Regions from separate parts of the Homo sapiens genome. Here regions 1, 3 and 4 are each linked to region 2. Evidence: promoter capture Hi-C in 16 types of primary human blood cells and fetal thymus (Javierre and others, 2016). All regions are on one chromosome and are shown on one strand. The core of a region is centred on a gene start or on the middle of the fragment in contact, and the rest is flanking DNA. Distances in the headings are between cores, read along the strand shown.

Region 1 (6,949 bases), core at 4,306-6,805, 320 kb before region 2:
TTACGGAGGCTTCTTTACTTAGGCATGGTTGATTAAATCACTGGCCCTTGGTGATAGACTCAACCTTGAGTCCCTCTCCCCTTCCTGAGACTGGGGGTAGGGCTGAAAGTTCCAACTCTGAGCATAGGGCTGATTCCCTCCCTGCAGTGAGCACTCCATCCTGTAGCCATCTAGGTGGTCCAAAAAAATCACCTCATTAACATAACCTGGGGTGTGTGAAAAGTGTTTATTATAAATAACAAAACACTGCCTTTTACCTTTAGTGCTCTGAAGCTGTCTTGAGCTGCTTCAGGAACCCAGGACAAAAGGCCATATATATACTTTAACAAAAGATCAACTTATTGTTCTAGTCCCATAGGAAGTAATAGGCTTAAAGGAGATGGGCCTGTAATCTTAGATGGAAATCAAAAAATATTCATCTTAGTAATACAGGTCACAAATGCCAAGGGGCCAGGCAGCTAATGAATGAATGACGACAATAGGTGCTAGGCTGTTTTATTGTGATCAAGTATAAACTCCTCTTAATTACACTGTCTTTAAAATAAATGTCCGTGGGTAGCCCATTGGAATTGAAAACTGTAGTTTGTATGTGTTTTTTAAAGCAATTGTGGTATTAAAGGAAAGGACAAATCCTTAAGAAAACAAACTAGGGGATTTAACTGACCACAATTTTTTCTGAAGTGGATGCTCTGAGGTTTGCACATCTCATTCTGCATTATCATGCTGGCCTGGGGGAATGTGTACTCTTCAGACAACAAGCTTTTAAGAGACACCAACAAACCCAAGTGTCTGACGGAGGGTGCACAGGATGCTGACAGGCTCTGAGGCCATCTATATGATAAATGAACGATTTCTCTAGCCTGGAAACAAACAATTGGGGCAGTCTTACTAGGTAAGTGAAGGAGCAGTGATTCTCTTAGTGTTTTCTCTTGGCAGAGGAGCTGAAATCCCACACCAAGTGGCCTAAGGGTTACCCATATTAAGTATAAAATCTATCTGAAGCCTCTGTTTATTTTTTAAGTTCTGTAAACTATTTGAATTTTGCATTATATGCCTAATAAAACCATGTGTTTATTAATATAAAATAACATACTTCCCACCCATCTTCACATAAAATTGCTGTGTTAGGAATACGAATCGTTAAACTTTATTGAGTACCTACTATGTACCAGATACTGCTCTAAGTGAGTTTTACAACTTTATGGGGGGGGGGGGTGCTTAATTATCATACCCATTTTACAGATAAGAAAACTAAGAGAGATGTTATGTCACAGAGCTTCAGGGACAGAGTCAGGATGTGAAGCCAGAAAATCTAATATCAGAGCCTGTGTCCTTCACCACTCCACCAAAGCACTCTTCAAACTTCCATTGGTGCTCCAAAAGCCCAGGACAAGAGTTCAACATTGGACTTCAAATTAAATAGTAACTCCTACAGCTTAACTGTTCACACTGTAAAACAATAGTGCTCAGAAACATTTTCACATGCTACGCGAGATCTAAAATCAAGGTCAATTACTATGCAATTTCCCAATATAAACTAAGATTAATTTTTTCAAAAGATACTCAGCAACTACAGGTTGAAATGTTAATCAGGATAGCGATTTGACTGAGTTTTTAAAATTGTATAGTCACCCCTCGGTATCTGTGGGGGATTGGTTCCAAAACCCACCAAGGATACCAAAATCCATGGATGCTCAACTCCCTGGCAAAAAATGGCATAATATTTGCATATAAACTGTGCACATCCTGCCATATACTTTAAATCATCTCTAGATTACTTATAATACCTAACACAATGTAAGTGATGTGTAAATAGTTGTTACACTGTATTGTTTTGATTTGTATTATTTTTATTATTGTATTGTTATTTTTTATTTTTTCTGAATATTTTTTTATCTGAGGTTGGTTGAATCTGTGGATGTGGAACCCGTGGATCCAGAGGGCCGACTATAGTTCCATTTAAGCCCCAGAATCAACAGGCCAGCATGGTAATCAGACCTTCAGGGGTCTTTGATTTTGGTTAATGATCACGAATCTTGTGGGATCAAATGTTGTTGGCAGTGCTGCTGTCAGTGACACGGTTTTCTGGAATTGTGAGTTTCTGAACAAAACAAAGGGCAGTTATCCCTCAGGATCCGTGGGAGATTTGTTCCAGGACTCTCTAAGGATACCAAAATCTACAGATGCCCAAGTCCCATATATAAAATGGTGTGGTATTTGCATATAATCTACACACATCCTCCTAGGTATTTTAAATGATCTCAAGATTACTTAAAATATTTGACACGGTACATTGTAAATGCTATGTAAATATTTGTTACACTGTATGGTTTAGAAAATAATGACAAGAAGAAAAAATCCATACATGTTCAGTGCCAACTCTGAGCATAGGGCTGGTTCCCCCTGGCAGCCAGCACCCCATCCTGTAGCCAAAATTTTTCCCCAATTCCCTAAATATTTTTGATCTGGGGTTGGTTGAATCCAGGGGAGCAGAACCTACTGGAATGGAATCCGTGGATATGGAGGGCTGACTATACTTTTAGTGGCTATACCAAACCCGGCAAGCTCCTCATGAAAAATCAACAATCCACTGTTCCTCCTCGGGCATCAACAGTTCATCCACATTAAAGGCACTGTGAATAAGGGTTACTATGACCTTGATTTTACTTTCTCTAAAATAACTCCAACCTTTTACAAAAGTCAACCCTAAATGGGTCATGGCTGTAAACTTTAAACTTTTAGAAAAAAAATGTAGGAAAAATCTTAGGCATCTGAGGCTAGTCAAAGGGTTCTCAGACTTGACCATAAAAGCATGATCCACAAATGTAAAAACTGATAAACCGGAACTCAGCAAAATTTAAAACTTGCTCTGCAAAAAAACCCTAAGAAGATGAGAAGACAAGCTACAGACTTAAAGAAAAATATCTGCAAAGCACATGACTAGTACCTAGAATATATAAAGAACTCCCAAAACTCAACATTAAAAAAAAAAATTCAATTACAAAATGGATCAGACATGCACAGACATTTCACCAAAGAGGATATAAAGATGGCAAATAATCCCACAGAAAGATGCTTAACCATATTAGCCATTACAGAAATATGAATTAACACTACAGTGAACTACCACTACTAGAAGAGCTAAAAATGACTCCAAATGCTGGGGAGGATGCTGAGAAACTAGATCTCTCCTACACTGCTGGTGAGAATGAAAAACGGCACATCCTCTTTGGAAAACAATTTGTGGTTATCTTTAAAAAGATATGTCTATGTTTGAATTCAGAATACAAAAATAATCTATTTTCATGGTCAATATTAGAAGTAAAAAAAATTACTAGTTTCTTTATATGATGTGGCTACTACATAGACTAATAGACTGGGAAAGTCAATAGTAGGCCTTCCCCTAATTCAACAACAGTTGGTTCAAATCTGACCACAGCCCAAGAGGCTACTTAATCTATTTTGCTCCATTAATGAAGATGCAGTGACAACTGTCGCGGAAGTTGAGGCCTCCAAACCCAGGCTGTCTTCCAGGATTCTGGTTCCCTCCACCAATCGAAACTGCACTTTTCACAGAAAAAATAAAATGGGTCTGGTTAGACAAGAGCACCTCCCTCCCCTATTAAAAGAAGTGGGGCAGATATCTTCCGACAGCATGCCATGTGCCAGTATCTTCCCTTTAGTTCCATTCTTCACTCTCCTCTGTGCCCCAACAGACTCCAGGAGATTTGGAGTGGGAGGGGCGGAAGGCAGGCTGGACTTTCAAGCTCCAGGAACTGCCAGCTCTCTTTACCTTCAGGGCTAAAGGGGGTGCTGGCGGTTACTGGCCTTGGAGTGCTACACCATCCTTCCTTTTCCTCAAAACAATAGTACTCAAACTGTGTCATGCACTAGACAGGTTTATGAAAGCAGACTGCAGGGCCCTATCCTAGGAGCTTCCCATAAGATAGTTCTGGGGTGGGGCCCAGTAATTTGTATTTCTAACAAGTTTCCAGGTTACTTCTGAGATAGTGAGAATACAAACTCTGTCACGTGTTTGTAAATTGTCTTCCTATTAAACTCTTGTCTTAGGACTCTGAAACAGGCCAGATTTTTTTGGCATGAAGGAAAAGCCTGGCAATCAAGTTATAGATAAAAGACTTAATGCTTAAATGCATTTTTCTGTCAAAGTGATATACTGGTAACAGCCTGATGATACAGGAGCTAGAAATTATTTAGACAGATAGTGAGGGTAAGAGAGTCCTCGGCAAGGTTTCCCTTTTAATAAAAAGCAGCCCCCAAATCATTTCTTTTCTAACAAAAAGCGGCCTGAAAAATCAAGCTGCAAGCATAGATACACAAGTAAAAGCTTGCATAGGTGAATGCCGGCAGCTGTGCCAATGGGAAAGGGCTACCTGGGGACCAGGCACAGATAAGAATGTAACAGAGGAAGCCTGCTGCAATTGGTTAAATCCAAGATGGCCAAAAACTTGACTGAATGCATACTCTTGGCTGCATTATGCCCCATTACCATAAAACTTCCCTGGGGAAACCGCCCACTCCCTGCCACGTACCTGAAGCTATGGCAGTTCCAGATTAACCACATTTAGTCAAGAAAAGGGTGGCGCCCTGATTCTGGGAACTGCCCACCCATTTCCTGGAAACCCTCTCCTTTCATCATAGAATATTTGTGCCTTCATCATGCCTGTCTGCGTAGCGAGCCCTGACCACATTACACGCCTCTTTTGAGCACATCCAGGCTCCTCTTTTGAGTGTGCACTTGCTTTCACTCTGCAACAAACCTTCTACATTTTCACTGTGGTCTCCCTTTCAAATTCTTTTGTGCAGAGAAGCGAAGAACCTGACCTGGCCTACTGGCAACAGTATCTTTCTCAAGTAGCTCTATTATGTGACCACTCCAAAGGCAAATCTTTTTTTTTTTTTTTAAACATAGCACAAATTAATGCTGGACATTAGAATCATAACGTGTTCATACTAGAAAAAATCTCAAGAGATAATTTAGAGATAATTCTCAAACCGTAGCATCAGAATTACCTGGAAGGCTTATTAGAACACAAATGGCTGGGCCCACTTTGGAGATTCTGATTTAGTGGGTCTGGGAGGGCCCAAGAATTGAACCAGGGACTACATTTTGAGAACCACTGCACAATCTACTTGATTTATTGATGAGGAATCTCAGCTCCTTAGGTTTTTATATGCTAATGCTAAGCATTTTTAAAATAAATGGAAATTATCCAGTGTATCAATATGAATACTTTTCTATACTTAGTTGCTAAATTATAACTGTATGTTTTAAGTGGTACTTCAGAATGAAATATTTCACTGAAAGGTTTTCCTTAGTCTTCCCCTTTTCCAGTCTATGCCTTGTCCCTTTTCCATCTGCCCCCACAAACCCGCCACCAGTGGCAGGGTAGCGTTGAGGAACTGTCTATAGATGTGATACTGTCTAGATTTTACTGAACTCCTAAATTCTGTACACAGACAAGATCTGATTTTTCAATTGATAAAACGAGATTATCTACCTACCTCAGCCAAGTAGCATACTCAAAGATTTGCAAAAATTAAATGGCTTATATGTGAAAACACCTGTATAACTCAAGTAGGAAGATGTCAATATGTCTTTATTTATTAACCTTGAAAGGTTCCTTCCAGCCTCTGGGCCTTGATACAATGCTTCTCCTTCCACCCACTTTCCCTTTTGTTTTAGGCTTAAATATGACTTTCTTTGGCAGGGGTAGGTCCTCCGGTGATACTGTCTTCCAGCTCTGGTGCCCTGTCTTACAGAATGTGTCACAATTATACTTTAACGATTTGTGCAATGATTTTTATGATTTAGAGTTGTCTGCTTGGTTCTTCCCTAGCTCCTAGCACAGCATTTGATACACAGTAGGTACTTATATTTGTGGAATACATTCCTGGCTGAAGATTAATTTAGTAGTGTATATGTAACAATCCTAAAATCAGTCCCAAAGTATATTTTAGTACCGTTTTGATCTCAAAAAACTTTAAAAACACCATGTAATATTTTAAGTTGTGAATTTTAAATTATAATAAAAATGTAGTATCAAAGAATTATAAACAGTAGTATCCATAGCAGGGATTAAGTTCTGAGCTCATTCAGTCTTTACCGTATGACACATCTGACAACGTACTTGACAGAAGCAACACACACTGAAGCACCATCTTAAAATGGCTGTGGTAGAATACCATAGAAGACCAAAATCCCTTAAATTACCAGGGCAAGAACTATAAGGAACTCAAAAGCCTCCAGTTAGCTTCCTTTCTTTCGGCGTTCTTTTTGCTGTGATGACCAAGGTCTGAAATACAATTTCTCTACCCAGCCCCATCGCCTTTTCTGCCAGGTACAGCTGAACTAAGTTGGGCTAACAAGGCAAATGATGGGCTCCAAACTGTGCTGCATCTGTCTTTATGGTGGCCCTCTTTATTACACCAAGATCCCCAGACACAACCTGCTGGCCCAGAACACTGCCTGCTGCCAACTAGAGCATAACCTGCTCATTCTCTCCACCACCAAGTGCTTTATGGGCCAGGACACAGCCTCCTGGGCAGTGGTCCTTGACCTTGGAATCTGACCTTGACACTGACATCACTGGAACATTAGGAAAAACCCATGAGCCTTGGACTCCCTAGAGACCAGCTAAATCAGAATTGCTGCAGTGGTGCTGGGGCATTTTTCCAATGACAAAGTCTCTTTCTACTCAAGAAATAAACTCAATTCTGATTGAGTCAGGGTTTCATGAATCAAGCTTCATGAATACTTATCCCAAATTATTTCACTTATATGTTGTAAGATGTTCCCATTTTTGTGAGTTTTATATTATTAACTAAGTTAATGGGAAATGAAGTGTATCTGTTAAAACCTAATCAATATTAACTTGTTATAAATATTCCGCAATCTAAACTGCTTTTACATCATTGAAAAGTTATA
Region 2 (6,554 bases), core at 1,717-4,216:
AATTGGTAGAGTTATTGTATCTTTTTATAGTTGTAAGTACACAGAGGTGGTATATTTAAACTTCTGTAATATACTGTATTTAGAAATGGAAATATATATAGTGTTAGGTTTCACTTCTTTTAAGGTTTACCCCTGTGGTGTGGTTTAAAAATCTATAGGCCTGGGAATTCCGATCCTAGCTGCAGATCGCATCCCACAATGCGAGAATGATAAAATAAAATTGGATATTTGAGAAACATTGTGCTTTTTCATTTAAAGACCAAAGTCATTTGAATTCGATGGCAGGCCTTTCTCTTTCTGAGACCTGTACGAAATGGCTGATATTAAAGCAGGATCAATAATGTAAGCATAAAATTACATTTGCTCAGTCAGTCGGGCCCAGTGCTTTGCCTGAGTGTGAAACCCATTTCTGTGGGCTTGGGGGTTGACCAGGCAAGGAGCTGGGCCTCAGAGGTTCCATGTCATAGCTGGCTGAGTTTCAGCTGTTATCTAAGCTGCCTGAGTCTCCTTTTATCATAAAGTAGTGATGGTGTCAGTGTGCGAAATGGTGGGGAGGACTGCATGAGGATTGACGGACAGCATTGTGCCCCTGACGGTGAGCACAAGTGTCTGTTTTTGTCACCTTTTCCTCTAGAGAAATCTAGAGGATCTAGAGAAAGGATCAATTTGGGTTTTACTGACCTCAAGTTTCTAAAGCTTCTAACCAAGAAGCCTCAATCACCCCGTTGTGAGCTGACGCTGCCATTGGCTCAAGATCATTGCTGGTACTGGGGTATGTCCTCCAAGCTCATCCCTTGCATTTGATGTGGAAAGCCCAGATCATTTTGACATGGGTGGCAAAGCACCACCACTTTAACAAAAAAGGGAGGCTGGGATCAGATCTCTCGTAACATATGCACTTATGTTAAGAGAATTTAGACACATTATTTAGAGACATCCCATTTCTCAATCCAAATGTGAGCAGGAAACTGTAGGAGAAGGATATTTTCCCTCATTTGGTGTCCCGGAACATGACTCCCTGAAGGGAGCCATTCTGGGGACAATTGGAGGGTGTGGTATGCGTGTGCACACATGCATTTGTGTGCCTGGTGTGCGTGTGGGGGTTGGCACCTCTCTAGAAGTGGACCCTTTGGGATGTCCTAGCTTCTCCTGCTGGTGGATGAAGCCTTTCTAATGGCTTTGCTCCTTGCTCCTAGGCATGAGCTTGAAGGGGGATAATGAAGGGCGTTTAGGAAGTTGCTCAAGGAAGACTGTCTGAGGAAACTGCGTACTGGGCTGAAGAAAGACAACCGGAAAACACTGAAGGAGCGCTCAGCCACTGCACCTTCAAAAAGGCAGAAAAGTCAGTTCAGGGAGGTGCCTCCCAGCTACCCCACCCACCTCAGGAGGGGTCATTCCAACCTAGGGTGCTGAGAATCTGGGTGGGATTACCAGCAAAAGCTAGAGAACCATGGGTCAGCGACCCTTAGGAAGAAGTGGAAAGGAGTCTTAACTTACCTGCAATAACCTTCCTATGCGAAGTTGTGGCTAACGCATGCCTAATGGCTAGAATTAAATGCTGGGAATATAACGAGCTCAGCACAGGTTATCCGCGTGTCAGATGTTCCTGCTGTCTTCTACAGTGGGGACATTTCCTAGCCTATTCCCAGGCTCCTTTAGAAGGGAAGTGGAGGTGCCCCATCTTCACCTGCCGCGTCCCCTCCAGCGTCTGCCCGGGCCCTGGGCCTGCGCTCCCTCGCGGTGGCGCCAGGTGGCGGGGCTGCGCGCCCTGGAGGAGCTGCACCGCCGTCGCGGGGCTCTCTCAGCACTGAGGACACCACGCCCTGCAAATTGTTGGGAACTTGTCGGTGGCAATCACACTGCTGGCTCCTGCAAACTGGTGTGAGGCCCTCAGGGGTGAGAACAGGATTGCAGAACTGCGCTCACCCTTTTGGAAAGTCGTCCAGTGGCAGAAGTAGCCTCCCAGGAGCAGAGCGAAGCTGCTCGGTGGTCCCCTCTCCAACCAGGGACCCAAGAAGCCGCTCAAGGGAACACGGCCCCGCGGCGTCCGGGAGGTCCTGCAGGAGCCCTGCGGCTGCCCCGGTTCTGTGAAATGGCAGTGAGGGTGGGGGAGATGTGCGCTAAATCCTGGGAACGTGCGAGTCATAACTTTCCAGGAGAGGGGCCCAGGGCGCTGGTCCTGCAGGGCGTGGAACCCTCTGCTCTTCCTGAGCAGGCTTTGTCCCCGGGTCGACACGGGGAGCTCAGCGTGAGGCCCGCCTGCAGCGTGGACGCAGATCTTTTTTATGGTCTGCGTTTCTGTATTAGCCTCAGCAGCCTGGTGACGCCTTTATAAAAGGTCGAAACACGATAAATTGCCAATATTCCACGTTTTATGTATTCCCCCCAAAGCCGACAATTAACAATGACTCACCGAGCAGCAGATTCTTTGCACACATCCATAATTGAATCAGTAAAATCCATGTGTTGGAGGATATGCAAATTGCAGGTCGTTAACGCTTTAGAACGACACATTTCTGTATCGCCCCGTGAAGAGCTCTACGCACATGAATGTTCCCCGTCTGTTTAACTGTTACGGCCGCAGTGTGTGGGCCGCAGGCGCGCTGGGGGCTCATCTGCTGATTTTGCTGCCCCTGGAGCAGAGGGATAGCGAAAGCGGGGCTGAGCGCAGCACGGACCGATCCCATCGCCGCGCTCGCCCCGCGTGGAGGCAGCCGGGTGCCCGAACCTGAAGGAGGACCCGGTGCCGGAAGGGCCCGCGGACCCCGGCGTCTCCCGGGGCATCGAGCGCCATCGCCCGCGTTTTACGGCCAGGGAAACTGAGGCGGCCGCCGAGGGGACGCCTCGCGACGGTTCCTGGGAGAGCTGGCGGCGGCCTTGCTCTGCGCGCTCTTCGCGCCGCCCTCCCCGCCCGCCCGCCTCAGGATTGAGGAAGTGCGTCTGGGCCCGGCCCCGGCGCGGGGGGCAGACGGCGGTGGGACGGCCAGGCCCCGGCCCCGCCAGTGTGTCCGCCCGGCCCCGCGTCCCGGAGCGCCCGCACCCGGCCCCGCCGCCGCCTCAGGTAAGCGCCGCTCCTGCCGGCGCCCCCCGGCGGCCTGGCTGCCTCCCGGCCCCGCCCGGGGAACCCAGAGCCCGCGCCCGGCGCCCGCGGGGAGCCTCGGCCTCTGCCTGCCCGCGGGCCCCTGCGCTCCGGGCGGCCGCGTGGTCGGGCACGGGGGGCCGTTGCGCAGGGGCCGCGGCCCGAGGGGCGCGGAGGGCGTGTGGGGCGACCCCGGTCTCACGTCCCCGCTGCCTCCCGCCGCGCCCGGAGCCCAGCCAGCCTGTGGGAGGGGAGCGCGCGGGGCCCGAGCAGGGAACCCCGAAACCCCGTCCGGGCAGGGTCGGGAAAGCTGGGAAGCGGAGGCAAGAGACACGAGTCGGGAGACACGAGCCGGGGAGCCCATAGGTTTCCTCTGCCTTTGGAGCGAACCCAGTCCCTTAGCGGGGAGCGGGCGGAGTGTGAGCGCGCGGGTGAGCCCGTGCCGGGGTGTCGGCAAGAGACCGCCCGGGAGCCTCTCGCTGGTCCGGGGCTTCCTGGGGTTGCGGGGCGGCCCAGCGAGGCTTCACCCTCCTCGATGTCTGGGTCACGCTTCTTGCCCAGGTGGTCTCTGGCTGGCGCAGATACAACTGCTCTGTCTACCATGGTCTCTGCAAGCTACAGGGGACCTTCCTGGCAGGCAGGGACGCGGGAAGGAAGCCTAGGAAGGCCGGGGTCAGCGAGGAGACGCTGGTGGAGAATCTGAGAACCCCCGTGGCCATCTCAACCTACCCCTTCACAGTATGAGGCCGCGAAGTTTTTCTCCCACGAACACTTCCCCTGCAACAGGTAGAGAAACGGGGGCATATAGCTTTCAGCAAACCTCTCACCGTGTACACTAATGATAGAGTTTGCCAGCCACTCACAGGGTATCAAAATGCCCAGACATTAAAGGGATAGCTAGAACATGCACAATTTTGGAAAATGTTAACATTAAACGCCTTTTATGATTTGATTCTCTTCATCTTTGCCTATGTCCTGAAAGAGAAAATAATATAACAAACTAACCTCACACCTAATTTGTTCCTAAAGGAGGTTTTGCGGTCAGCCAAACCTTTCCCTCTCCCAAAAGTCGATGTCTCTGGCAGTGACCTCGCAGTCAACTCGGATCCTCAGATAAAAAACATTCAGTCTGTTGAATCTATGTCTAAAATGTGTCCTGATCTGTCCCCTTTTTCTTATGCCCCCACCCCCCACCCTGCCCCTTGTCCAGGGTACCAGCATCTCTTTACTGTAGGATTTCAGTTCCCCCTTCCTCCATTCTCTATATAGCAGCGTGCGTCTGTGTGTGTCTGTGTGTTTAAATGGGTAAATCAGACCATATCAGTCCTCTTTATGGAGTCCTTCAGTAGCTTCTCCTTGCAACTGGCACGCAATCCAGGAGACCTCCTTCTCCTCACACCCCCAGCTGATCCAGCCTCTGCTGTCTCGGACCACCAGGCCATTGCCCCAGGCCACACTGGCTGAGCTTGCTGTCCAGCACTGGTCCCCTGCACTGCTGCCTCCTGACTCTTCACACAGCCTCAGAAAGTCTTCCCTGGTCACCCTCTGAAAACCCACGCTCCCTCTCACATCCCTCACTCTGCAGCCTCCCTGCAGTCCCCATTCTGTACTCCTTCTTTATCTGTTTAATTTCTCCTTAATTATCTTGTGGTCTCCACTGGAGCTCTTGGGGTCAGAGACTGATCTGTCTTGCTTATTGCTGTGCCCTCATTCCCATAACTGTACAGGGAGATACCCCGTGCATGGTGGTAGAGTGACTGGATGGGGAATGGACAACCCTAACTTACCTGTGGTTTCAGACTCATGGAGCATTTCTCTCCTCCACCCTTTTTGGGCTCATCTGGGATTGAGAACAACATATTTCTCTGGCCTGCAGCTCCAAGATATTTGGATGCCCCCAAACCCATTAAACACATTTTATAGGCAAAAGCCAATGCTAGTAAGGGATGCAAATAGCACTCAAGAGATTTCTAGAATCATGGGCTAACCATTTTGACCAGGATTTTGTTTCAAAAAGGAACTAGGTGATATGAATGAGCATGTCTAGCATGCTTTGCTTGCAAGGGACTTCTAACTTCTAACTGATATCGACAGTCCTTCCCAAGCCTCCTAAAATATCTGGGCTTCTCTGCTGTCAGAAGCTTTATAGCAATTACTTAGCTGTCTGCTCCCCCACCAGCTTCACAAACTCATGAAGTTCCCTCTTCATAGAAAGAACTCAATAAGACATTTGTAGAATGAATGACAGGTTCTTCTCTTTTCTTTTCTCTAGAGTCTTGCTCTGTCACCCAGGTTGGAGTGCAGTGGTGCAATCTTGGCTCACTGCAACCTCCACCTCCCCCAGTTTAAGTGATTCTCATGCCTCGGCCTCCCAAGTAGCTGGGATTACAGGCGCCCACCAGCATGCCCAGCTAATTTTTGTAATTTTAGTAGAGATGGGTTTTTACCATATTGGCCAGGGTGATCTCGAACTCCTGACCTCAAGTGATCCACTCTCCTCGGCCTCCCAAAGAGCTGGGATTACAAGCGTGAACCACCGCACCCATCTATTTTCTTTTCCATTAAATGTTTAGGTTTATTCATTAATGCAGGTATAAATAGTTGGCAAAAGGAAATTGATGAGGTTTTGAAAAATCATTTAAACCATCATTACTGCTGAAAACCTCTTGATGCCCTCTTTAGGGTGTATAATGAAGACATGTAACTTGTAATCATCACTTGTTGGCACCTCTCTGGACCCAAAAGAAGCAGGAGGAAGCAAAGATCCGTTTGAGGGCAAAGATTGAGCAAAATTTGAATTACCTCATCTTAAAACTTCTACCTTAGAATATAAGCCAAAATAGTAACTAGAATTTTAAAACTGCTCCAGGGGCAGAGTCTTCCACTGGTAAAGTGATTTTCAAAAGGAAACTGAAAATGAAAAGGGGAACAAAATGTGCTGGGTGAGGGTTAGCCTGAAATAATTTTAAGATTTTTTTTTTTTTAGAACTTAAAAACATTGTATGGTAAGACACTTCTGTTTTCAGGAAGAATGTCTAGCGTTTGGATTTTTGAAATGCTGTTGGTTATGTGCGGTAGCTGTTTTGGAGAGGTGTCTGAAAGCAGATGGCAACTGTGCTTCTCAGTTTCTGGATGTGAATGTGTGATCGGAACGTTTATTTTAAAACAGATTCTGTCTTGCTGGCTCTTCCTCTCTCTGTCACAAGTTGATTTTCCAAATCAGGTTTTGCTATTTATAAGGCTTTCATCATCCCCTAAATTTTGCCCAGATTGATCGTTTTTCCTTTCCTCCTTCGACTTTTCAGGCTTCCCAACTTCAAACACAGGTGTTTCCCACACGTGGTTTGTGTCGACCATCCCTTTTGCCTCTGAAACATGTGCAGCTTGCACAAGGCTGCTGGAGCCTGGCTTTTCTAGCTCCACCTTTCCCTGCCTTGACGAGTCCAGTCCACCTGGGCCAGGTGCCTGAGTTCTA
Region 3 (6,089 bases), core at 406-2,905, 330 kb after region 2:
GAAAGGAGGCCAAAAGTAAGAGCGTTAAGCTCGAGTTTGGAAAACCATCTCCAAGTGTGAAACAGTAGTTCTAGTTTGCATTACATTTTCTTTTACTTATTTTCTTTTTTTTGAGACGGAGTCTTGCTCTGCCCCCCAGGATGGAGCGCAGTGACGCAATCTCGGGTCACAGCAACCTCTGCCTCCTGGGTTTACGCCATTCTCCTGCCTCAGCCTCCCGAGTAGCTGGGACTACAGGCACCTGCCACCAAGCCTGGCTAATTTTTTTTTTTTTTTTTTTTTTTGCATTTTCAGTAGAGATGGGGTTTCACCGTGTTAGCCAGGATGGTCTTGATCTCCTGACCTCATGATCCGCCCGCCTCGGCCTCCCAAAGTGCTGGGATGACAGGCGTGAGCCACCGCGCCCGGCCTGCATTACATTTTCTGAGTATTGCTGGTGCATTAGGCCCCCCACTGATTTGAATATATTGATACCGTAACCATGAAAATGTATTTGGTTCAGGGGGCATGGGGGAGATAAGGGAGTTACCTAATTTACTGTTTGTACTAACTGGTTTGTTAACTGTCCCCAAAACTGTGATTTCACATGGTCTATCACCACACTAGAGTCATGCGGATTTACTTTCAAAACCATGCTGTAAATAATCTATATGGCTCATCCTCGATTTCCGATACGGCTGTTTCTCTGGTCAAAAAAAAAAAAAAAATCCCATAAAACCTCAGGTAATGCAAGGTAGATCTGGGAGAGATCCTGATAGGCTGGTTCCCAAATCACTGCACTAGTCTATGTATCTCTATCTATCGATCGATAGATAGAATTTTTTTTTTTTTTTTTTTTTGAGATGGAGTCTCACTCTGTAGCCCAGGCTGGAGTGCAGTGGCATGATCTTGGCTCATTGCAACCTCCGCCTCCTGGGTTCAAGCGATTCTCCTGCCTCAGCCTCCTGAGTGGCTGGGACTACAGGTGCACGCCACCACACCCGGCTAATTTTTGTACTCTTGAGTAGAGACGGGGTTTCACCATATTGGTCAGGCTGGTGTCGAACTCCTGACCTCAGGCGATCCGCCCGCCTCGGCCTCCCAAAGTGCTAGAATTACAGGCGTGAGCCACGGCGCCCCGCCTGCATTAGTCTGTATTTACAATACCTGCATTCTAAGCTTTTCAAGCCACTCAGGACCCTTCCTGGCGGAATGTGGGTTCTGGACTTAAGCAGGACCCTAATGGAAATGTGCAGGAATGGGGATCAAGCCATTCAAGGGGCAGTCACTGAAGACCACTTTCACCTTCTTTCTCAGTCCTTTACTTTCTCCCTTAAAGGCAAGGGAGACCATATATGCTTTTCCCCTCACAACATCTAGTGCCTGAAAAATCTGACCAAGACTGCATTTAAAAACTGAAGTGTAAAGGTATTGGTTATAAGAACAAACAGCAACCAGCTTAGCCTGGCTCAGCACTGGCTGCTCTGAAATTTCATTACCAGACAACTGATGCTCTAAAACCATTCCCCACATTGGTTTGCTCTGTGGCTGGATAAGACCCAAACTTTATCCATACAGTAAGTGTCTCTATACTTCACACATATAGGGTTTCCATCAAATCCCTTTATCGAGTCTACAACCCTCTCCAACTTCAAATTCACTCCAATACAAATCTGATTCTAACCATGCCAGCCATTCCAAAATCATCTCCCTTCTAGAGACTACATTGGCTAATCCCTTTGTTAAACCTGAACACAATTCCAGCTGCTTTTATGACTCATTTGGCCAACTAGAGCCCAGTTACTGGATAACATGCATACACCACCAAGCTGAACTAATTAACACCAGAATGCAGTTTTCCACTGAATCTACCAAGGGCCAAGAACTGCTTTTCCCCAAGGTTCTCTCTCTCTGTACTCAACAGACTGGTGTGGTCCAATATGCTGCGGGCATTCTCTTTCATTTATAGGAGTGCCTCCAACTGCGAAATGTGAGAGTATGATGTGGAAAGGTTCTAGAACTAGATTAACGTACACGGGCTCCAGCTTTGCAAGGACAAAGGTGCACATTTTAGGGAATCCAGTATCAGCCCCAACTGCCTCCACTATCAGGTACTGTGCTATGAGTTTTCCAACATTATGAGGGAGACCCGATCTGTCGGGCCCTTCTAACGAGAAGCTTCGATTTGCAAAGGCTAAAGTGCCTTCATCAGGGTGAGAGGTACACCCAGCGAGGCCACACTAGTCCATCTGACCCCAAAGGCCATGTTCCTGAGCGCCGCGCTCACCATCCCGCCTCTGATCTTTTCTCCCTCGGCCCGGCGTCTCCCGAGAGGCAACCCGATCCCGCCGGAAGCCCAAGAAGGGCCTAGGAAGCGGGCGGAGGCGAGAGCCAGGAGAGCACCCGGGATGCCGGCCGCCGGGATGCCGGACGCAGGAGGCGGTGCCCGGGGAGCAGGGGCTCACCTGTAGGCGGCCACGGCCCGAGTCTGCAGGTATTTCTGGGCGGTCATGACTCCCACGAAGAGAAAGTTCCTGTCGCGCGGGCCGCCATCTGGGTCCGAGCCGGGCGGCCAGAGCTGCGCCCCGCGCGCATCGCCGCGCGCCCCGCCGGCCTGGGAAGCCGCCGCCTGCCCGGACCGGCAGCCCTCGGGGCTGGCGCGGCGCCGTGGGCCCGCTCGCTTCAGCTCGGAAGCCCGGGGCAGGACGAGCCGCGAGGCCAGCACGAAGCCCAGGACGAGCCCGAGCAGCACGCTGAGCCAGGCGCGCCGGCCGCGCGCGGCCATGCCCGCGCCGCTCCGCCCGCCGGGCCGCCGCCGCAGGCTCCGCGCGCCCTCAGCCCGCTGCCCCCGCCCGCGGAGGCCAGCCCGCCCTAGCGCCGCGAGGCCCGGCCCGGGCAGCGCCGCCGCCGCCGCGGGCCCGCCGCGCCCATCGCGGCCCCCGAGCCGCCCGCAGGCCCCGCGCCGGCGCTTTGTTCCGCACGCCCGCCCCCGCCGCCGCGGCCTGCGCCTTTAAGAGGGGACCATGCCCGGCGCGCGCTAGCGGCGGCTCGGGCGCGAGGTGGCGGCGGCTCCTCCCGCTCGCGCGCGGGGACGCGGGGCCGGCACGACGGCGACGACGGCGGCGGCAGACGAGTCCGGGCTCCCGTCCCGCCCTGCCCGCGTCCTCCGGCTGGCTGGGCTCGGTTCGCACGGCGCCTGTCCCCGTCCTCTTCGTAGCCGGCGCCGCCGCCGCAGCTGCACATCCTCCGGCTTAGCTCGCCATTGCAACAGGAGCCCCTCACGTCACGCACGGCGCGTTATGAAGTGGCCCCGCCGGCGGCGAGCCGTGGCCCCTCTCGGGATCCGTCCGCGCCGCGCGATTGGCGCAAAAGTGAATGAGGGGCGGTTCACGTGGCCGAAGTTTGACCAAAAAAAAAAAAAGCCCTCTCGGGCGCCCCGCCCGCGCGGTCTGCGACTGGAGCTGGCGGGCGGAGGGGGCGTGGGCCCCCGCCCGGCGCCCGCGGGGCCGGAGCTGCCCGTGATCCGCACCTAGCACCCGGCGCAAGGGCGTCCCCGCGAGGACGGCCGCTTCCCGCACCGCGGCGCCCGGGCGCGAATCTCGGGAGCCAGCCTTGCAGTGGGGGCTTCTCGGCCCCCAGACTCCACGCTGCGCACGTTCCTCCCGCACGGGCCGTCCTCGCTGCACCCCACGGCCACGCCCTTCCTGCCGCCGGGCCGGCCCCGCGCTCCCGGCCCCGCGCTCCCGACCACACTGCAGCTTTGTCCGCAGTCCCGCGGCCGCACGCAGGGAACAGCCGTCCCGGAGCCCTGGGGACGTGCGCGCCTGCGAGTGGACCGTGAATTCAGTTACCTTGTTCCCTGTTGCTAGTTTCTACGCTAAATAAGAAGAAGAAGAAGAAAAAGCCATCTTTAATACTTAAGGTCCACGCTTCTCATACAGTACTAGCATTTAATGGATCTCGAAGACAAGGAAAATGAAGTTAATGCCCTGGATGGTAAACCCTACTTTCATTTACATACTGTGTGGGCAGATAGCCGGCTAGTACCCCCAGCCTGGGACTTTGTCCCTACTTTAATATAGTCCGTCTGTAAAAGTGCCGTGGATTTCTAAAGACGGATTTTGGGTCCCAGATCCTCTACTCTGGATTTTAAGTTTTATACATTTCCTCTGCAATACTTCAGCTAAGGCAGCAAAAGCGGAGGTCTCCATACAACGAAAGTTTGTGTAGAGTTTCAGTCTTGTTACTTAGTCACCAGTATATTGGGGTTTTCTAATGAAACTTTTGAAGGGCAAAGTGTTTCCCTGGGCCTGAGAAGTTACCTGCATTGAATCAAATAAACACATGCCTGGGGCAATCCTTGGATCTTTCTTCATTGTTGACCAAATGGTTGAAATACTATCACACAGTTTAAAATGCCTGTGGGAGCTTCAGATACCTTCTCGGCACCTGAATGGTGGTCACTCTTGTTTATTCTTTGGATATTACCACTTTCTTTGACACTTGTGATTTATATTAAAAATAGTTCATTACCTACCTTCCCACAGAGCCCCTCCCTAAGGGGTGATCCACATCTAAAAATAAAATACTCATTATGCAGTGAATACAGGATTCCAGCAGTGGTCTTGGGAAAAATACAGAACATACAACCATGAATTACAGGCTCGAAAACCATCGAAAAAGGTTTCCACTAAGACCATAAACCACAAATGCCGAGGAGTCACCAGATCCCCCAAATTCAGCAGCCCCATCATTCACAGTGATTTACATGAAGTACGAATCTGGCCAGATTCAGATGTTCAATTTTGTAGCATATTCAACGATTTCAGTATTTTCTAACCTGCTTTAGACTTACCTAGTTTTCTTCGAAACTAGTGTCCAGTGAAAAGCTGGCCGGGCGCGGTGGCTCACGCCTGTAAACCCAGCACTCTGGGAGGCTGAGGCGGGCGGATCGCCTGAGGTCAGGAGTTCGAGACCAACCTGACCAACATGGAGAAACCCCGACTCTACTAAAAATACAAAATTAGCCGGGGGTGGTGGTGCATGCCTGTAATCCCAGCTACTCGGGAGGCTGAGGCAGGAGAATCGCTTGAACCCGGGAGGTGGAGGTTGCTGTGAGCCGAGATCGTGCCATTGCATTGCACTGCAGCCTGGGCGACAACAGCGAAACTCCGTCTCAAGGAAAAAAAAAAAAAAAGTATATAAATATCTGATGGGAATAATATTCTGAGGATGCCAAATATTTTGTCCTCCTCAATATCCTGGTTCCTAGTTGTCCCTCAGTTCCTAGGTTAACAGTCTCACCTGTCTCACCTGCAGGCTTAATGGGGGTCTTTCGTAATGTAGAAAGGATACCCTTTTCTTTGTAAAGGCTGAGCCTGAGGGCTTACAATTCCCTGGAGAAGGAGAGTAAGACATACGGGAACTCCCTCTGGGAGAAGAGGGATATGCCAGGCCAAGAGAGGGTTGGAAGGAGAAGAGAGAAACTGAGGTCCTGTAGAAGTCTGCCAGGGGCAGGGACCAATTCCGGCATGCAGCCTAGGAGCAGGAGGGCAAGCTCTAGCACATCTGGAAGGAGCAGCTGGATTGTTGAGCTGAGGCAGTTCTCCTGGGGAAGAATCCAAAAGTGTCCCAGTAAGGGGCCTGGCTCAGGAGACAAGGCTATCCTAAGTGGGGATTTCACAGCCAGTAGCAAATACCTGGAATCAAGAACTTCAGTGACAGCCAGAGACCCAAACAGCTGGACAGGACTGGTACCCCCAGTATGAAGGCCTGTCCCATGCCCAGCCCCACTAGTCAATACCAGCAAGGAGCCAGGGAGGACAACGAGGGTCTGGAACATCTGCCCCCAATGCACACACATGCGTCCTTCCCCACAGCCCCCTGGAGGCCAAGGCTGTCCTCATCCTAAAGCCCCCTCACCCTAAGTAATTTTTAAAGGTAAGGAGTAGGCAGGGTGATTCGCATTTATAGGGATTTCACTGCAGGGAGCTGAGGAAAGACTTTTCATGTTCCGGGCTTCTTGATTTCACTGTGCTACTGGCCTTCTCTGTTGAGGGAATCATTGACCATTTTTCTCATCATAAAAGAAGGGGAGGTATTAACTGTTA
Region 4 (6,573 bases), core at 1,734-4,233, 270 kb before region 2:
AGTAATTTAGTTTTTACCACTATTTTGGATGATACGTTTTCATTTAAGTATGCCTGTATACACATACGTCAACTCTTTCCTCTTCTGTTTTTTGCCTGAATATGTTATGGTGGTTCTTTTTATTAATATTAAAAAGGGCCTGGCATGGCGGCTCATGCCCTTAATCCCAGCACTTTGGGAGGCTGAGGCAGCTGGATCACCTGAGGCCAGGAGTTTGAGACCAGCCTGACCAACATGGTGAGACCCCATCTCTACTAAAAATACAAAAGTTAGCTGGGCGTGGTGGCACACGCCTATAATCCCAGCTACTCGGGAGGCTGAGGCATGAGAATAGCTTGAACTTGGGAGATGGAGGTTGCAGTGAATTGAGATTGCACCACTGCACTCCAGCCTGGGCAATACAGTGAGACTGCATTGCAATAAATAAGTAAATAATACTTAAAAAGAGCCCGTCATCTATTAGGAAAATCAAATTCTTTAAAGAAAGAAGATTCACATGTAATTCACATTCCAGTTTGCATTTGCAGATCAAATACTGTAAGCATTTACTGAAAAATGACAATGATAATTTATTCTTTTCCTAAAGTAGCCCATGAATAGTGTTGAAAAATAATTCAAAACAGGCTTGGAAATGATTTGCTGTTGACCTGAGTGTGTTTTGCAGCACGTTGACTGTTTTATACTTTAAGGACAAGCCTATTAAGCATTCATTCAACTCATATTCGCCGAGTACCGTGTCAGCAGTTGGGTTTACATTGGCAAATGGGGCCAGACATGGTCCTCCCCTCATGGAGCATGTCATATAGTGAGGAAGATGGGCATTAATTAACACGTAATCACCAAATAAATGTGAACTCACAACCTTATTAAATGTTATAAAGGAGAGGAACTCTGGGAGTATCTGATGGTGAATCCTGACATAGTCTCCTGTGATGAAGTGCTATTTTGGCAGAGATCTGAAAGGTGGAGGAGACATAATCTTCCCAAGAGGCACATGAGTGTGTGTGTGTCACATCCCTGTACAGATCCATGTACAGACATCTGTGGATACACATACTCCTAGTTTACAGACATTTCCAAGAAAGCTGTCACTTCTGCTGCCATTCTGTTAAGAGACCACATAGCAAGTAACCTCTCGAAAAGCGTATGTTCATACAGGCCTTACAGAGCAGAGGTCTAAGTCAGCCTTTGTCATTTATGAAGAAGTACTTCCTTTTGAATAACGGTGATCACTGTAAGCAAGTACAATGGATATGAGGGATAAAGTACAAGAATAGTTTTCCAAGTATGGTCTAGTGGGCCCTGGAGTCCCCAAGACCCTTTTAGGGTAACTGTGAGGTCAAAATGATTTCTTCCCTTTTTTTCTTTTTTAAATAGAGAATGCAAGCCACAGTTTCTGTTTTATAAACACGAACTTTTGTATTATAAATACAAAATAAGAAAAGACAGTGATATGTTAGGTGTTATGAAGGGTGAAAACTTTATATAAACTTCAAAAGGCTGCTTTCTGCATCTGCATCAATGTAATTTCATGATTCTCTACCAATTTTCATTTATAGAAAGAATCTCTATAATCAAATTATCATTCGAGTTCATGCCCCCCGGAATATCTGTAGGAATACAGTTTATTATCTGCTCCTCCACTCGGAAGGAGCCCTGTGTCTGTCTAGTCTGCTCTCAGAACTTTCTCTTCATGAGCAGCCACATCATAGAGAGGAGCCTTACAACTTCTTGAATCCCACAGCTTGACGGTGTTATATAAGGATCCTGAAATCTGCTGTGGTTCATGGGTAGGAGACCGTTTTACTGATGTCTCCCAACCTGTATGTGAGGTTAGGGACGGCAACACGAAAGAACCATCTTTAGTTTGGGGATCCCACAGTCTGATATGCCTATCTGTGCTTCCAGATGCTAAACATTTACAAAGTGGAGAATAGGAAATACAATTAAACACTTTATTTCCTGTAAAGTTGACTTAAGATTGCCAAACGCGACATCCCACACGCTAATTTCATGGTCCCAAGATACGCTGCAGATTTCTTCAGCATCTGACCACAGCACTGAGGAGATTGCTTCCTTGTGGCCAGAGAAGGTCACTATGGGAGTCCTTGTTAGTCCCAACTGCTCTGTTTTCTGTTTCTTTCTTGGTCAGTTTGTGGATTCCTCCATTTCATCTTCTTCTGTAGGGACAGTAGACCAGATCCTTAGCATCTTATCTCAGGAGCCACTGCAAAATTTAGTTCCTGAGCTATCAATAGCTGTGGAATCTACACTTGGGCAGCAGCATAGGGTTTTCACTTTGTTTCTCTGGACATTCCACTCCCATAAGAGAATAGTCTGATCCATAGAGCCACTCAATAGTAACACAAACTGTCTTTTGTCACCCAGGCCACATCTGTTAACAATATCCATGTGTCCCACAATTGTCAATGTTGACTTTCCTTCCAAGGACCAGATTCGAGAAGTCTCATCATAAGAACCAGTCAAGATCCATACCTCTGTCCCTTGAATTGAACTGGTCCACTCATCAAGGACACTTCATTCTGGTTGGGGTGCGGTGTACTTCTCCGCGTATTCTCTTTCCACAACTTCTTTTAAGGAGGTGTTCTCCCGTTCCATGTGTTTGACCAAGGGCATTCACAGAAACTGACCCTTAATAAGGAAATCAAACTCCACATATTTGTGGAACTCATTTCTGCCCTTTAGTAATTAATTGATGATGTTACTAAGGTCAACACTTTAAGAGACAGCAGGGATTGAGAAGGCAACATCATTGATGGCCTATTTCTTGTGATCAGTGTAGAAGCTTGTTTGCAGCTGAGCCATGTCAGGGAGTGTACACGACTTGCCCACAGTTATGGGTTAGTAGGCTGAGAACGGGAGCTCCTGTCTCTTAGGACTACAAAGAGACAGCTCAAAATTACACTGCACAGGTAAGCGAGAAGTTGCGGTGTAATCCCGGACTCTGTTTTCTCTCCATGGGTCTCCTCCTGATTTTCATAATAACACTGAGACATGATTTGCCTTTCTCTCATTCCTTTTATCATGAGTGTCAGTTTTTTCCAGAGACGAGGTGGTGTGATTGATGTGACTTATCTCAACAGATTGAATTCAGAAGCATATATGAAAATTCAGCTATCATCTATTAAACCATACATTAAAAGCTTTGCAAAAATGTGAAAGAATGACGTTCTTGTTAAATTTTTTTTTGGTTTTGGAAAATATAGTTACTTTTCATAATGATGTGTTATTTATGTTAACATGTAATGGTTTATTAGAATGAATTTAAAAGTATTTCTAAAATGTCTGTTTTAACTTATAATATGGCATTTACTATAGAGATAGCCCACATAAAAGTTTCTGGGGGTTCGCAATAATTTTTTAAAGTGTAAAGGAGTTTTGAAAACAAAAAGTTTGAGAATGACTGAAAAATGGCATTCAACTTGACTTTAAGCATGTTACTTAATCTCTCTGAGACTCTATAAAATGGGGATGATGATCAAAGTACTTCCCTCGTAAAAGGATGAAAGGAGTTAATACATGTCATGAGCTCTTAACAATACATGGCGCAGAGTAAGTATTCAATATATATTAGCTTTATTATCATGTTTAATATGAAAGCAAAACTTCCTTGACTCCAAACACTACTGAAGCACAGTTGAAGAATTCTTCCTTGTTTTTGGAGCCATCTGTATTGTTTTTGTAAAACAAAATATTCCAAAGGGAAAGAAATAGGATTTTGTGATTTTTCTTTTGAATTGAGATATAACGGGTTTTTATTGGCAAGTGATCAGGGTGTGGAAGCTTGAAGCGATGTAGATTCAGAATACCTTGAGGCGCTTTTTCACACCCCCTTCTGCTGCACTCCTCAACTGTCAGCCTTACAACCAAGGTTCTGCTGTGTTCAGAATCACGGAAAACAGGTGAGCAGATCTGGAAAGCTTGTTTGGAAAGCTCCACAGAGACCGTGGTGGGTGTCCGGGCTCCAGTGTCCTAGACCCAGAGCTGAAAGGGAGGCTCACAATAGGGGACATCTCTTTCAGTCCCCACACTTTTCAGATTGAGAAGCCAAGGCTCAGAGGAATGATTGGCTCACAGTGGCTCACCCAGCGTGAGAGAGACCTAGTCAGGACGAGAACCAGAATTTTCCTGATTTATAACAGAAAGGATATGAGGCTTAGAATCAAAACTGTTTTTGGTCTCAGTTGAAAGCCTTAATTGGTTGTCTGATATTAAGCAACTTGTTTACATCTGATACTCAGTTTTCTTATTGGTAAAATGGAGTTGAAAATATCCACCATCCCACGGTTGTGAAAAGGATCAAATAAGGCATCGCATGAAGGTCCTAGGACACTTTGAGTTGGTATCTTTCCGGTCCTTTGCATGTCAAGTCCATAGAGAGAACTTCCAGGGAAATGAACAGTTCTTTTCAAAAGTGCCTTAAATATTGTGCTTTGTGGCTTTGTAACATTTTCTTTTTTCTGTCTTTTTAGGACAGCCCAGAAACTTGCAGGACCTGTGCCGAATTAAAATTCGACAATGTATAGGCCTTCAAAACCTAAAGCTACTTGATGAACTACCAATTGCCAAGGTCATGAAAGACTACTTAAAACACAAATTTGATGATATCTGATATGCCAGAACTGTGAGCAAGATTAGGAGTTCTATTCTAGATACTTAAAAGGCTTTTTGCCTTGCACAAAGTATATCCTATGCAATTTCTGATTTGCTGTGAAATCAGAAAGCAGGTATACACTTTTGGGTTTTCTGTTTGTTTGGTTGGTTTTCATTGTAGGGGAGGGATTTTTTATATATATATAAAAACACACACCACATGCTTGAAGGTCTTAATTTGGTTTCTTGGTCCAAGTTTAAGAGGTCCAAGCTTTGTATACAATACTGCATTTAGAAAAATTGTCTTTTCTTAAATGACACAAGCAGGTTTAGAGTGGAGAATTTACCCTTTCCAAATTTATGGTTCCTTGGTAAGCACGGTATTCTAAACCAGCAGAGCACTTGTTAACGTTTGGAGGCACAGTTTCACCCAGGGCGACCCTGGGTTCTTTTGGAAAATGCCCTAAGAAATGTTTGAAGTAACGCTGTCACCTCATTCATTTTTAATGAGTACAAACTGGCCGTTTCAAACTGTTCTTTTTCCTAATTAATGTAGCTTTCGGATGACATAAATCCAGTATCTCTGCTTATGACATAAATCCAGTACCTCTGCTTTTCTTTTGCTGTGCTCTTGTTTTTAACTTATTTTTTTTTTAACAACTGTAGTACACTACCCTGAGACACTGCATCTCGATTTCTATCTCTAGTTAGAGTTGTACTTTTAAAAAAATTAACGGGAAAGAAAATAACTTTGTGAAGCCAGTGTATTCTGTTTTTAAAACTGTGCCTGCAGTGCAATACTCCTTCTGGTGTATTTTATCCATTATTTCACTTGCTGGTCGTCATTTCACAGCCAGCTTTGACATGCCCGTGAGGACAGGAGCCGCCGCTTCAGTTGTCACTGCAGAGCCATCGTATGTCAGTTGCAATTTCCATCTGAAGCTATGTCTTTGACTTCACTTTAAGCAGAAAATTTTGTACCCTGGTGGTCGAGTCTTCCCTTAAAAATTGTTAAATCATTTGGCTTTAATGGTTCAATAATTTGGGGTGGCTTCATGGTGTTTCTTTTCTTCCCAGTTTAAAAAAAAAACTTTTTAAGCGTAAAATCTTTAAGGGGTACACATTTATAAGTCTGGCTAATTTCTAATATGCTAATTAAACATTTCCCATTTTAAGGTTATATACAGTGAGGCTCTTCAGGACAATTATTTTCTGGGTTGATTGGGCATATGTTTGCCGTGTAAACACGGATATGATAAAGTGTCAGTAACAATGGAAAAGGTCCCAGAGGCATTAGGCATCTAAGAGGATGCCCTCAGAAACGTATTCTGGCTTGATTTGTGTTATTAACTTCAGAAGAACCTTTTCAAATGTCCCAGTATCGTTCTTAGTGCTTTGGGAAAAAATATTTAACACACTGTTAATAAATTTGTTATCAGAAGTTTACAAGACGAAGGGCTTCTCTCGTCTGAATTTCTAGATTTAAGTCATGAAGTGTAAAACTGTTTCACCCAGAAGTGTAACTAAGCAGAACTAGGAGTTTTCTCTGGCTTCACCTTTTTCAGAGCCAGCAGTGCTGTTTTCTCAAGCACAGCGTTTGCTCTTAGACTCTGATCTGCTTGTGCCTAAGCATTGCACAGGTTTCCGAAGACGGGCAGCTTCAGAGAAGAGGATTATTCGGGAGATTGCTGGTGTGGCCCATAGACTCTTTGGCATAGACTCTTTCGCAGGCAGCCACTCTGAGTGTGGCCAGTTCTATAACCATCCCCAAACTAGCTGGAGCCTGATGGATAGGAACGGGTAGTCTGTCCTCTTCCCCATAAAAATGTTCCAAAAAGTTATCTCCAGAGAGAGTCCCTTATGAAGACAGTTGCCAAGCTGTATTCTCATTCTTTAAACCAATACCCAGGTCAGGGCTAGTTCACACTAGCACTGTTAGGGACATGGTGTGGCTAGAAA

The links. Contacts are between HindIII fragments. The CHiCAGO score rates a contact against its expected background, and 5 or more counts as called.
Region 1: a fragment that was not itself captured here is called in contact with the fragment with the promoter of LRRK1 in region 2 in 2 of 17 cell types (naive B cells and total B cells); the score reaches 6.3 in naive B cells.
Region 3: a contact is called between a fragment that was not itself captured here and the fragment with the promoter of LRRK1 in region 2, in 4 of 17 cell types (naive B cells, total B cells, M2 macrophages and 1 more). The highest score is 8.8, in naive B cells.
Region 4: a fragment that was not itself captured here is called in contact with the fragment with the promoter of LRRK1 in region 2 in 3 of 17 cell types (endothelial precursors, M2 macrophages and M1 macrophages); the score reaches 7.5 in endothelial precursors.

What each region holds. Positions count from the first base shown.
Region 1 is chr15:100,592,357-100,599,305 of GRCh38, forward strand. The region is part of intron 1 of LINS1 (lines homolog 1); the gene reads right to left. Among named protein-coding and RNA genes, the nearest start is that of LINS1, 6.4 kb to the right of the region's middle. The HindIII fragment of the contact is 2,419 bases long and covers 4,347-6,765 here.
Region 2 is chr15:100,916,391-100,922,944 of GRCh38, forward strand. LRRK1 (leucine rich repeat kinase 1) reads left to right here and starts at 2,967. Exons shown (of 34, transcript NM_024652.6): 1 at 2,967-3,061. It overlaps ALDH1A3-AS1 (ALDH1A3 antisense RNA 1), which reads right to left and starts at 2,893. Exons shown (of 2, transcript NR_135827.1): 1 at 2,414-2,893. It overlaps ALDH1A3 (aldehyde dehydrogenase 1 family member A3), which reads left to right. Exons shown (of 13, transcript NM_000693.4): 13 at 1-236. RefSeq lists silencers at 1,634-1,853, 2,614-3,203 and enhancers at 1,639-2,231, 1,984-2,073, 2,124-2,243, 3,418-4,009, 4,536-4,595. The HindIII fragment of the contact is 4,524 bases long and covers 695-5,218 here.
Region 3 is chr15:101,248,693-101,254,781 of GRCh38, forward strand. CHSY1 (chondroitin sulfate synthase 1) reads right to left here and starts at 3,356. Exons shown (of 3, transcript NM_014918.5): 1 at 2,445-3,356. The coding sequence starts at 2,764. RefSeq lists silencers at 2,341-2,770, 2,961-3,270, 3,441-3,820. The HindIII fragment of the contact is 999 bases long and covers 1,157-2,155 here.
Region 4 is chr15:100,643,830-100,650,402 of GRCh38, forward strand. ASB7 (ankyrin repeat and SOCS box containing 7) reads left to right here. Exons shown (of 6, transcript NM_198243.3): 6 at 4,494-6,573. The coding sequence ends at 4,633. It also overlaps the pseudogene WDR12P2. Among named protein-coding and RNA genes, the nearest start is that of ASB7, 45 kb to the left of the region's middle. The HindIII fragment of the contact is 358 bases long and covers 2,805-3,162 here.